Regions from separate parts of the Homo sapiens genome. Here regions 1 and 3 are each linked to region 2. Evidence: promoter capture Hi-C in human tissues and cell types (Jung and others, 2019). All regions are on one chromosome and are shown on one strand. Each heading gives the region's core, a stretch centred on a gene start or on the middle of the fragment in contact. The rest is flanking DNA. Distances are from core to core; before and after follow the strand shown. Region 1 overlaps LOC124905023 (a long non-coding RNA gene). Region 2 holds the start of HSF2BP (heat shock transcription factor 2 binding protein). Region 3 has its middle 36 kb from the start of CBS.

Evidence for each region. The method cuts DNA at HindIII sites, captures the fragments that hold promoters and counts their contacts. A contact is called where the count stands out against the background at its distance.
Region 1: a contact is called between a fragment that was not itself captured here and the fragment with the promoter of HSF2BP in region 2, in 1 of the 25 tissues and cell types used here (IMR-90 fibroblasts).
Region 3: a contact is called between a fragment that was not itself captured here and the fragment with the promoter of HSF2BP in region 2, in 4 of the 25 tissues and cell types used here (H1 embryonic stem cells, IMR-90 fibroblasts, dorsolateral prefrontal cortex and 1 more).

What each region holds. Positions count from the first base shown.
Region 1 is chr21:42,945,209-42,948,099 of GRCh38, forward strand. LOC124905023 (a long non-coding RNA gene) reads right to left here. Exons shown (of 2, transcript XR_007067882.1): 2 at 1-2,891. Among named protein-coding and RNA genes, the nearest start is that of MIR5692B, 4.4 kb to the right of the region's middle. The HindIII fragment of the contact is 8,157 bases long and covers 1-2,891 here.
Region 2 is chr21:43,658,186-43,660,885 of GRCh38, forward strand. It overlaps HSF2BP (heat shock transcription factor 2 binding protein), which reads right to left and starts at 1,303. Exons shown (of 9, transcript NM_007031.2): 1 at 1,201-1,303; 2 at 1-135. RRP1B (ribosomal RNA processing 1B) reads left to right here and starts at 1,375. Exons shown (of 16, transcript NM_015056.3): 1 at 1,375-1,609. The coding sequence starts at 1,480. RefSeq lists a silencer at 1,408-1,597 and an enhancer at 2,318-2,367. The HindIII fragment of the contact is 9,655 bases long and covers 1-2,700 here.
Region 3 is chr21:43,038,136-43,041,043 of GRCh38, forward strand. No RefSeq gene overlaps it. Among named protein-coding and RNA genes, the nearest start is that of CBS, 36 kb to the right of the region's middle. The HindIII fragment of the contact is 8,976 bases long and covers 1-2,908 here.

The DNA.
Region 1 (2,891 bases), core at 371-2,870, 710 kb before region 2:
CTTGATGTATACAATGGGAACTGTCCTTAGTCTGAGGAAGGTCATTTGAAGTCCTTACTGTAAAAGTCCAAATTTTAAGAAAAATGAGTCCCGCAATGGGTTTTCTCATGCTTCGGCTGTGTGTGGACCAGTCAGCTTCCAGGTGTGACTGGAGTAGGGCTTGTCGTCTTCTTCAGAGTCACTTTGCAGGGGTTGGCAAAGCTGCTCCCCTCCACGTACTGCTCACAGTCTACTGATGTTCAAGGATGGTCTCAGAGGTTAGGCCTGCTAGAATAAACTGAGTCCAACACCTTTACACAGTTATGTTCAACTGGGCTCTCTGATACCGGGAGAAATGTGGTGGGGTTTAGGGTGTTGCAAACTTCAATGGTTATGTGGGGATTTTCAAATAGCATGATTTGGTACTTGGTTAATCTATCATTTGTTAACCAATGATATCCTTTGGTATTTATTAAGGTTACCACAGCATGGGGGGTCTTTATATTCAGATTTTGCTTAAGGGTTAGTTTATCTGCTTCTTGTGCTAACAGGGCTGTTGCTGCCAGGGCCCTTAGACGTGGGGCCAGCCTTTGGAAACCCTGTCTAGTTGTTTTGAGAAATAGACCACTAGCCTTGACCAGGGCCCCACAGTCTGGGTTAAAACTCCAACTGCCATTTTTTCTCTTTCTGACACATAGAATGTTGAGTTTTGTCAGGTCAGGTAGCCTCAGGGCTGGAGCTGACGTGAGTTTTCTTTTAACTCATGAAAAGCTCGTTGCTGTTGGTTGTAATAGATGTAGTTTATCCAATCTACATTTTTATTAACTGTCACCTACCAAAATATTGACTCAAATCCTGCAGCTATTTGATTTCAAGCTTTAAATTGATCTGGTATTCCTCGTGGGACTCCAATTGCGTCTAAATAGACATGAGAGTTGAAAGACCCCTAAGGAGCTTCTCTCGCTTTATGATGTCTTATTGATGAAATGCCAGGGTGAAAGGGATAGCCAACCGGACTAAAGTACAAGTGCCACTCCAGTTATTCGGCAGAGTGCCCAGTAAAGGTCCACCACAATACCACCACACATCCGCTCAGGGATGAACAAGGGCTGCCTCATTGATAAGCTCTTGAAAATTCTTATGCTTCACTGCATCCTTTCAGGTCTCCAAGGAACACGAAGTTTCCTCCCTGTCATGAGAGACACGAAGTGAACTTAGTGTTGGGAGACGGAGGTTGGATGGCCCTCAGGGGCTGACCCACAGGGTGCTGGACTTTGGGATATAGCAGAGAGAGCTTGGCACGACTTATTACTCCAGGCCGTAGAATCCTGGAAAAGAGCTACCATGCAGCCCACACCTGGTCAACTGGAGGACCACCTTAGTGGAAAGGGGACAATCTGGGCCTCTGGCCTGCCATGTGCACAAGCATAACAATTGGTTTTATTTAATGTCAAATGGAATATTTGATCCATTTTAACTAGGCATTTGCATCTTGGTATCCTGTCTTAATTGATAAAGTTTGTTTTAAGTCTTTAACTTCTATGATCCTCTAGTAAAATGAATGTATGGTTTTAGGAAATTATAAAAACCGGTTGGGTCAGTCCGTCCTTGCTCTTTAGTGGTCCACAGGACGTTGGACCAACTATGGCATGAAAGCTCTACGTCAGGGGGCAAGACTCCTAGTTGGCACTGGGGTGTTTATTGAAATCTCCCCGGATTAAATGGTCCTCGTTTACTAATGCCCAGTCTGAGGAGAGTCAGGAGGGGCAGAGATACTTTTCTGAAGTAGAAAGCTGTCTTGGAATTGGCAAGTCCCCACAGGGTATAACAAGGCAAGAATTAAATGCAATAGTTTGAGGTGAAATTGATTTGATTATGTTAATAACTATATGGTCAACAATAGAATGAGGAAAGAAGAAAGAGTAATAGAGTAGATGAAAAGAGTTACATTTTTCTTAGCTTTAGTTTGGTAGGGTTTTCCCCTGGGACTATGGCCCCCACCTCTGGAGGGGGTGGCGCTTTCTTGACTTGGGTGTGATGAGTCCATCTTTTTTTTTTTCTGTAAAAACAGCAGTCTTGGTGGTTAGCAGGACAAGGTAGGGTCCTTCCCAGGCGGGCTCAAGTTTTTCTTCTTTCCACCCTTTGATGAGAACGTGATCTTCAGGCTGGTGCTGATTTACTGGAAATTCTAGCGGTGGTACATGTGCTAAAAGACTTTTAGTTTTTGAGAGAAAGGAAAGTGGAAGATAAACCAAGTATATAATTTTTAAGAAACTGACCTTTTGTTTTAAATGTGGGGACCTTGGCAGTGGACTTTATAGTCCTTAGTGTCTTTTTACTGAGAAATTTCCTTTAGCACCTATTTTTATTAGTTTTTAAACCAAAGAAAGCCAAATACCATTTTACATTTAACAATGCTTCTTGTATGATTTTTATACCAGATAAGCTAAATGTTATGTTTATATTAGTGTGTTATTAATGTTAAACCTAATTTTAATAAAAGCCTGTAGACATATTTATCTAATTTTTAATGTTTGACCGTAAGTTACGATTTTATAGACTCTTTTTAACCTTTCATAATTTTTGCTAAAGAGCAGGTTGGTGCTTTAAGAAAAACCTGTTATGCTTTTACTTTAATGTCTAGTTCACAGAAAAACTGGATGATACTTCTTTAACTTTAGCAAATATGTTTATACACAGAATTTCCTTTACAATTAATGTTTTAAAATTTGCTTAAACCTTCAAAACAATAAATTTTTAACTTTTTAATGTAGGTAAAAATGTACATTCTTATGCCTCCTTATAATCCTTTTACCAAAGATATATTTTACTTTTCTTATACACCTTGCACATAAACTGTTGTTTTTTTTTTTTTTCAATAGTTTTACATTCAGGAGGCCTAGTTACTTTTA
Region 2 (2,700 bases), core at 53-2,552:
GGGTCGGGAACGGAGAGCCGCCAGGCCCAAACCTCCCAGAATTTGCGCAGTATTCTCGGCCTAGAGAGCGAGGAGTGGCCTTGGCGAGGTCCCTCTTTGGCTCTTCTGGCTTAGCCGGGGTTTTAAACTTGTTATCTGCAAAGCAGAAGGAAAGTCAGCCCCTGATGTAAGTGTCAAGTAAAATAAATCGGATGGGTCCTTTCCTGTTTGGCGAGGAATGCTACACTAAGGGGGACTGCGTTCAAATGGGCAGTCTTTGCTGGAAACCTCGCCTCCGCGCGCCTTCCCTCGCTCGGATTCAGGCGCTTTTACGTTAAGGGTTGAATTTTTGTGTCAACAGGCACCTCGGGAGGTCGCCTAGACAACTGAGCGGAGCAACTGAGATAACCCCCGCTACGTGTGGAGTGACCTAGTCCATTAACTTGCCCCAGCACGCCCGCTGAGTCCGCAAAATATAGGATGGCCTCGGGTTTTAGATGAACCCAAAGCTAAGATTTCTTCCCTCTCTGGAATTAGCAAGCAGCCCGCCCTGCCCAACTCCCCTGGAAGCGCGCGTGCTCGCCAGGCCTCGGGACGCCTGCGCGGGCGCCCTTGCACTGGCACCAGGGCTCCGGGGTAGGGGCGCACCGATCTGCCCAAGCCTCTGCAGGCACTGGAGGAAGGCGAGCCCTCCACCCGCTCAACAGGCCCCAGTGCCGGCCTTTCCTTCCAGTCTCAACTCCACCCGGGGGCCCGGGGGCTCCACAGTTAAAAACTCCACGCCACGGAGATCGCAGGTAAGCTGCTGGCTCAACGAGGTGTGCTAAATGGGATTAAAGATCCTGGACCGTGGCCAGGCGCGGCGGCTCAAGCCTGTAATCCCAGCGATCAGGGAGGCCGCCGCGGGAGGATTGCTTGAGCCCAGGAGTTTGAGACCAGCTTGGGCAACATAGCGAGACACCGTCTCTACAAAAAAATAACAAATAGTGGGGCGTGATGGCGCGCGCCTGTAGTCTCAGCTACTTGGGCGGTCGAGATGGGAGGATCGATCGAGTCTGGGAGGTCGAGGCTGCAGTGAGCCAGGATCACCGCCAAGATCGCGCCACTGCATTCCAGCCTGGGCGACAGAGGGAGACCCTGTCTCAAAAACAAACAAAAAATCCTAGACCGTTTACAAACAGCCTTCCGTCTCTTCCTGGTCAAGTCCTAACCCTGGCTAACCTCGCCGTCTACAGCCTGAATTTTGGCAACCGAAAGGCAGCGCCGGCGCCACGTGCACACGGGCTGGGCCGCTCCGCCAGCTGCCAGGGCCACTGCCGCGCTCACTCCCAGAGCGCGCTGCGAGCCGCGGCGCCTTTGTGACGCCATCAGCCCGCGCGCCGCCGCCGCCGCCTTCTGTGCAGTCGCGGCCCGGGCGGACGGTGGCTGGCTGCTCCGCAGCGCTCGGCTGGCTGCAGCGGCACCGCGGGTTGCGCGGCCGGGGATGCTCCAGCGGGCGCGATGGCCCCCGCCATGCAGCCGGCCGAGATCCAATTTGCCCAGCGGCTGGCGTCCAGCGAGAAGGGCATCCGGGACCGAGCGGTGAAGAAGCTGCGCCAGTACATCAGCGTGAAGACGCAGAGGGAGACAGGTGGGCGCACGGCCGCGGTCAGCCGCGCCACATGGCGGGCCGGGGGCCGGGGCTGGGGCTAGGGCCAGGGCCCCGGCACGGAATGCGGCTTCCACGTGTTGTCGTGACACCCAGCGTGTGCTTCGGTTTCCGCGCTGCCGGAACCGCTTCTTGCTGTGTCTAGTGCCTTTTTACACTTAAGGAAACGGGTTGAGGGGGTTCCGTTACTTATGAAAGTCACAGTAAGCGGGGAAGCTGAGAAAAGACCCACATGGGTCCGATTCCCCAGCCGGCATCTCGAATCACTGGGCTGCCCTGATTTGCCCTGGTGTCCGGTCGGTGATTGCCGCCTTCCTTTGACCAGCACCTTTACGTGACGGGGCTGCAGGAGAGAAGACAGACAAAATCACTACCCTCGAGGATCTATTAGTAATAAAGCAAGGAGGCAAACAGGCAAATAAAGTAGACCTTGTGTAAGTGTAGTAAAGGAAATGAAAACCAGGTAGCAGGCCGGGCGCGGTGTCTCACGCATGTAATCCCAGCACTCTGGGAAGCCGAGGCGGGCGGATCACCTGAGGTCGGGAGTTCGAGACCAGCCGGACCAACATGGTGAAACCCCGGCTCTACTAAAAATACAGAATTAGCCGGGCATGGTGGCGCATGCCTGTAATCTCAGTACTCGGGAGGCTGAGGCAGGAGAATCGCTTGAACCTGGGAGGCGGAGGTTGCGGTGAGCCGAGATCGCAGCATTGCACTCCGGCCTGGGCAACAAGAGCGAAACTCCGTCTCAAAAAGAAAAGAAAAGAAAAAAGGAAAAAGAAAACCAGATAATAGCAAAAAGGGAAGGAGGTTGCTCTTCTTGATAGGCTGTTCTGGGAAGGCCTCTCTGGGCTGATAATCAGCTCAGATCTGAAGAGAAATGAGCGGAAACCGCCTATGCAGAGGCAGGAAAGAGCTTCACGTGCCCTAGGAGTGGTTTGAAAGACCAATAAGTTGGGGTTGGGGGGGCGAGTGTTATGAGATGAAGTTGGAGATGTAGGCAGTGGCCAGATCACACAGGGCTTTGTAGTTTAGATTTTAACGGCACTGCTGTTGGATGATTTCATTTACCT
Region 3 (2,908 bases), core at 332-2,831, 620 kb before region 2:
CTATGTGACAGTTGGCACAGGACATGCTTGGGTCTACTTCTGTCAACAGCTTTATTTCGTGGCAGTGGATTGCCTGTTGTTTCTCTCATAGTTTATTGAATGCCGGGGTTTTTTTGTAGAATGTGGAGACCAAGATAAATAGTCCTCATGCCCAGAAACAGGCACTCCCCTTCAGACAGGCCCTGGGTGGGTGTGGTCACCAGGTGAGCGGGCTGTGGGCTTGGGGCTGCCTTCGTCCCTGCAGGCACCACAGGCTTCCGATTCTTCCAGCAGTGGCCATAGCCAGCCTGTGCATGGTGTGGGTGCCAGAGTGGCCCTGCCCCTTCTTAGATGCCAGCAGGCCTTGGATGCTGTGCTGTGCCTGGTGTCTGCTCCTGCCCTCCCTGGCAGAGGGCTACTGCTGCTTGCTTCCGGCTCCTTGGCGTGCTCCTGGCCCAGCCTCCATCGCAGGTGGGTCCTATACCCTTGGGGTGCAGGGCTCGTGCCCACTCCTGCTCCTGCTGCCAAACTCTGCCTTATACCTGGACAGTGGCTTGGGCGGGAGAGTGTCTGAGCCAGGGCAGGCCTTGAGTTGAAAATGTTTCCTGCCTCTCCCCGGTGGCTCTGTACCTGGTAGAAGGAGGGAAGAGGCTGCAGGTTCCCCATTCCCTGTTTTCTCCTTTCCTGCCCTCTGGCAGCTGCCAAACTCGGGGTGGGCGGGGAGGCCTTTGCCCTGCGCTCCGGAGTGCACACAGAGCTCTGTGCATGGTGTGAGAGTTCAACAGAAACGGGAATGAGGAAGGGGGAACAGTCGGGTTTGGAAATGGTTTTTACTCAGAGTTGAAGGCACTGCCTTTTACCTTGAGCAACGTAAAGCTGTTCTGATTCCTGATTCTCTGTATGGAAGGATTCTCTCGGGCAGTGTCCAGGGTCTTATGGCAGGAATGACATCTCCAGTCCCCTGTCCCCCTCTGGAATTTTGCCTATCCAGGGGATCCCCCTCTCTTGACCCTGGGGAGGTTTATGTGGCCTGCTGGGGTGGCAATTGCCATGTGACTGACGGGTTGAGGGGGCTCAGGCTTGGCCCGGGTGCCATGTTGGAAGGAAGCCCAGGCCGCGGGGATAGGCCATGCAGGTGTGCTGTCTGCCAGCCGCGTTGACCACCAGCTACACACAAGTGAGCCTACAGGTGCCTCGAGCCACCCCAGCTGATGAGCAGAGCAGAGCAGAGCCCAGCCGCCCCTGTGAGCCCCGCTCCAGATACAGATGTGTGAGCAAAATAAATGTTGCCACTGTCTGAAGCCATTTTTCTGGGGGTTGTCGTTAAACAGGCTTAGTGCCTGAGGCGGGACTCTGTGGCCGGTTCTCTGTCATGTCACATTGGACCTTGGCATGGGCCATGCCCGTCGTGTGCTGGGCATGTGCTGGACCATGTCAGCCCTGCACCAGCCTTCCTGGGGCCTGCCATGGACCCACGCTGCCCGCCGGCGATGCCGTCTCTGGATCCAGTCACTGAGCGGGGGGTGTTAGACCCATAAAGAAGCAAAGTTTAGGGGGAGCTTGGAAGGGAGTGGGCTGCCCCGGGCCTCTTCACGCGACGCCAACGCCACCTTGGTGTGAGCCAACAGAGAGGGCTGTGCCCCAGGTGTGGGGTTGCGGGCAGGAGCTGCCCACTCAGGCTCTCTGAGGCGTCTTTGAGTCGTTCTCTCTCAGTTCAGACTTCCCTCCGACAGCTTCCCAAAGCTTTGATGGAGCTGTCCTGAGTCACCTGCACAACCTTGCTAGCTGCAGCCTAAGGAGACACTGAGCGAGCACACGGTTCACATTTCTAAAATGATGCTTTAATCAAATATGTTAAGCTAACTCTTTTTTTTTTTTTAACAGAGTCTTGCTCTGTCACCCAGGCTGAAGTACAGTGGCACAATCTCGGCTCACTGCAACCTCCGCCTCCTGGGTTCAGGCAGTTCTCCTGCCTCAGCCTCCCAAGTATCTGGGATTACAGGCGTGTGCCACCACACCCAGCTAAGTTTTATATTTTTAGTAGAGACGGGGGGTTTCACCATATTGGCCAGGCTGGTCTTGAACCCCTGACCTCAGGTGATCTGCCTGCCTAGGCCTCCCAAAGTGCTGGGATTACAGGTGTGAGCCACCGAAGAGAACACTTTTTAAATGTTATTTCGGTGCCAGTACTTGCTTCAATTAAGCGCTCATTAGTTAAAAAGAATGCTAGCCTCCATCTGAGCCCCACCAAGGCCTCACTGTCCTTCCTGGCGGGAGAAGCCAGCGGATATGCCCTTGAGCTGAGGGCTGTCGAGGATGTGGTGGTCCAGGGCATCCCTGGACTCACTGTCTGACAGGCAGGGACAGCCCCTGCAGAGGAAGAGGCTGAACACTGGACAGGGGTGCCTGCCACTCCACAGGGCCTGTCCAGTGCCTATCCTGGTGGGTGAGTAGCAGGCTCGCTGCCTACTCCGGGCCCACCACCACCACCAGGGCTGTGCTGCAGGTTGCAAAAGGCCCAGCGGCGCCCGAGCCACTCCTTATCTGGTGAGGAAGATGCCCAGACACAGGGCAGCTCTCAGCACGGGAAAGGAAAAGCCTGACCTTTGGGCCACATCACAGACACCTGGTTGATTTAATAAGACTGAATCGTGGCCGGGCATAGTGGCTTAAGCCTGTAATCCCAACACTTTGGGAGGCCAAGGCAGGTGGATCACTTGACCTCAGGAGTTTAAGACCAGCCTGGCCAACATGGCAAAACTCCATCTATACCAAAAATACAAAAATTAGCTGGCATGGTGGTGCATGCCTGTAGTCCCAGATACTTGGGAGGCTGAGATGGTAGGATCACTCGAGCCCAGGAGGTGGAGGTTGCAGTGACCCAAGATCGTGCCACTGCACTCCAGCCTGGGCAACAGCACCAGACCTT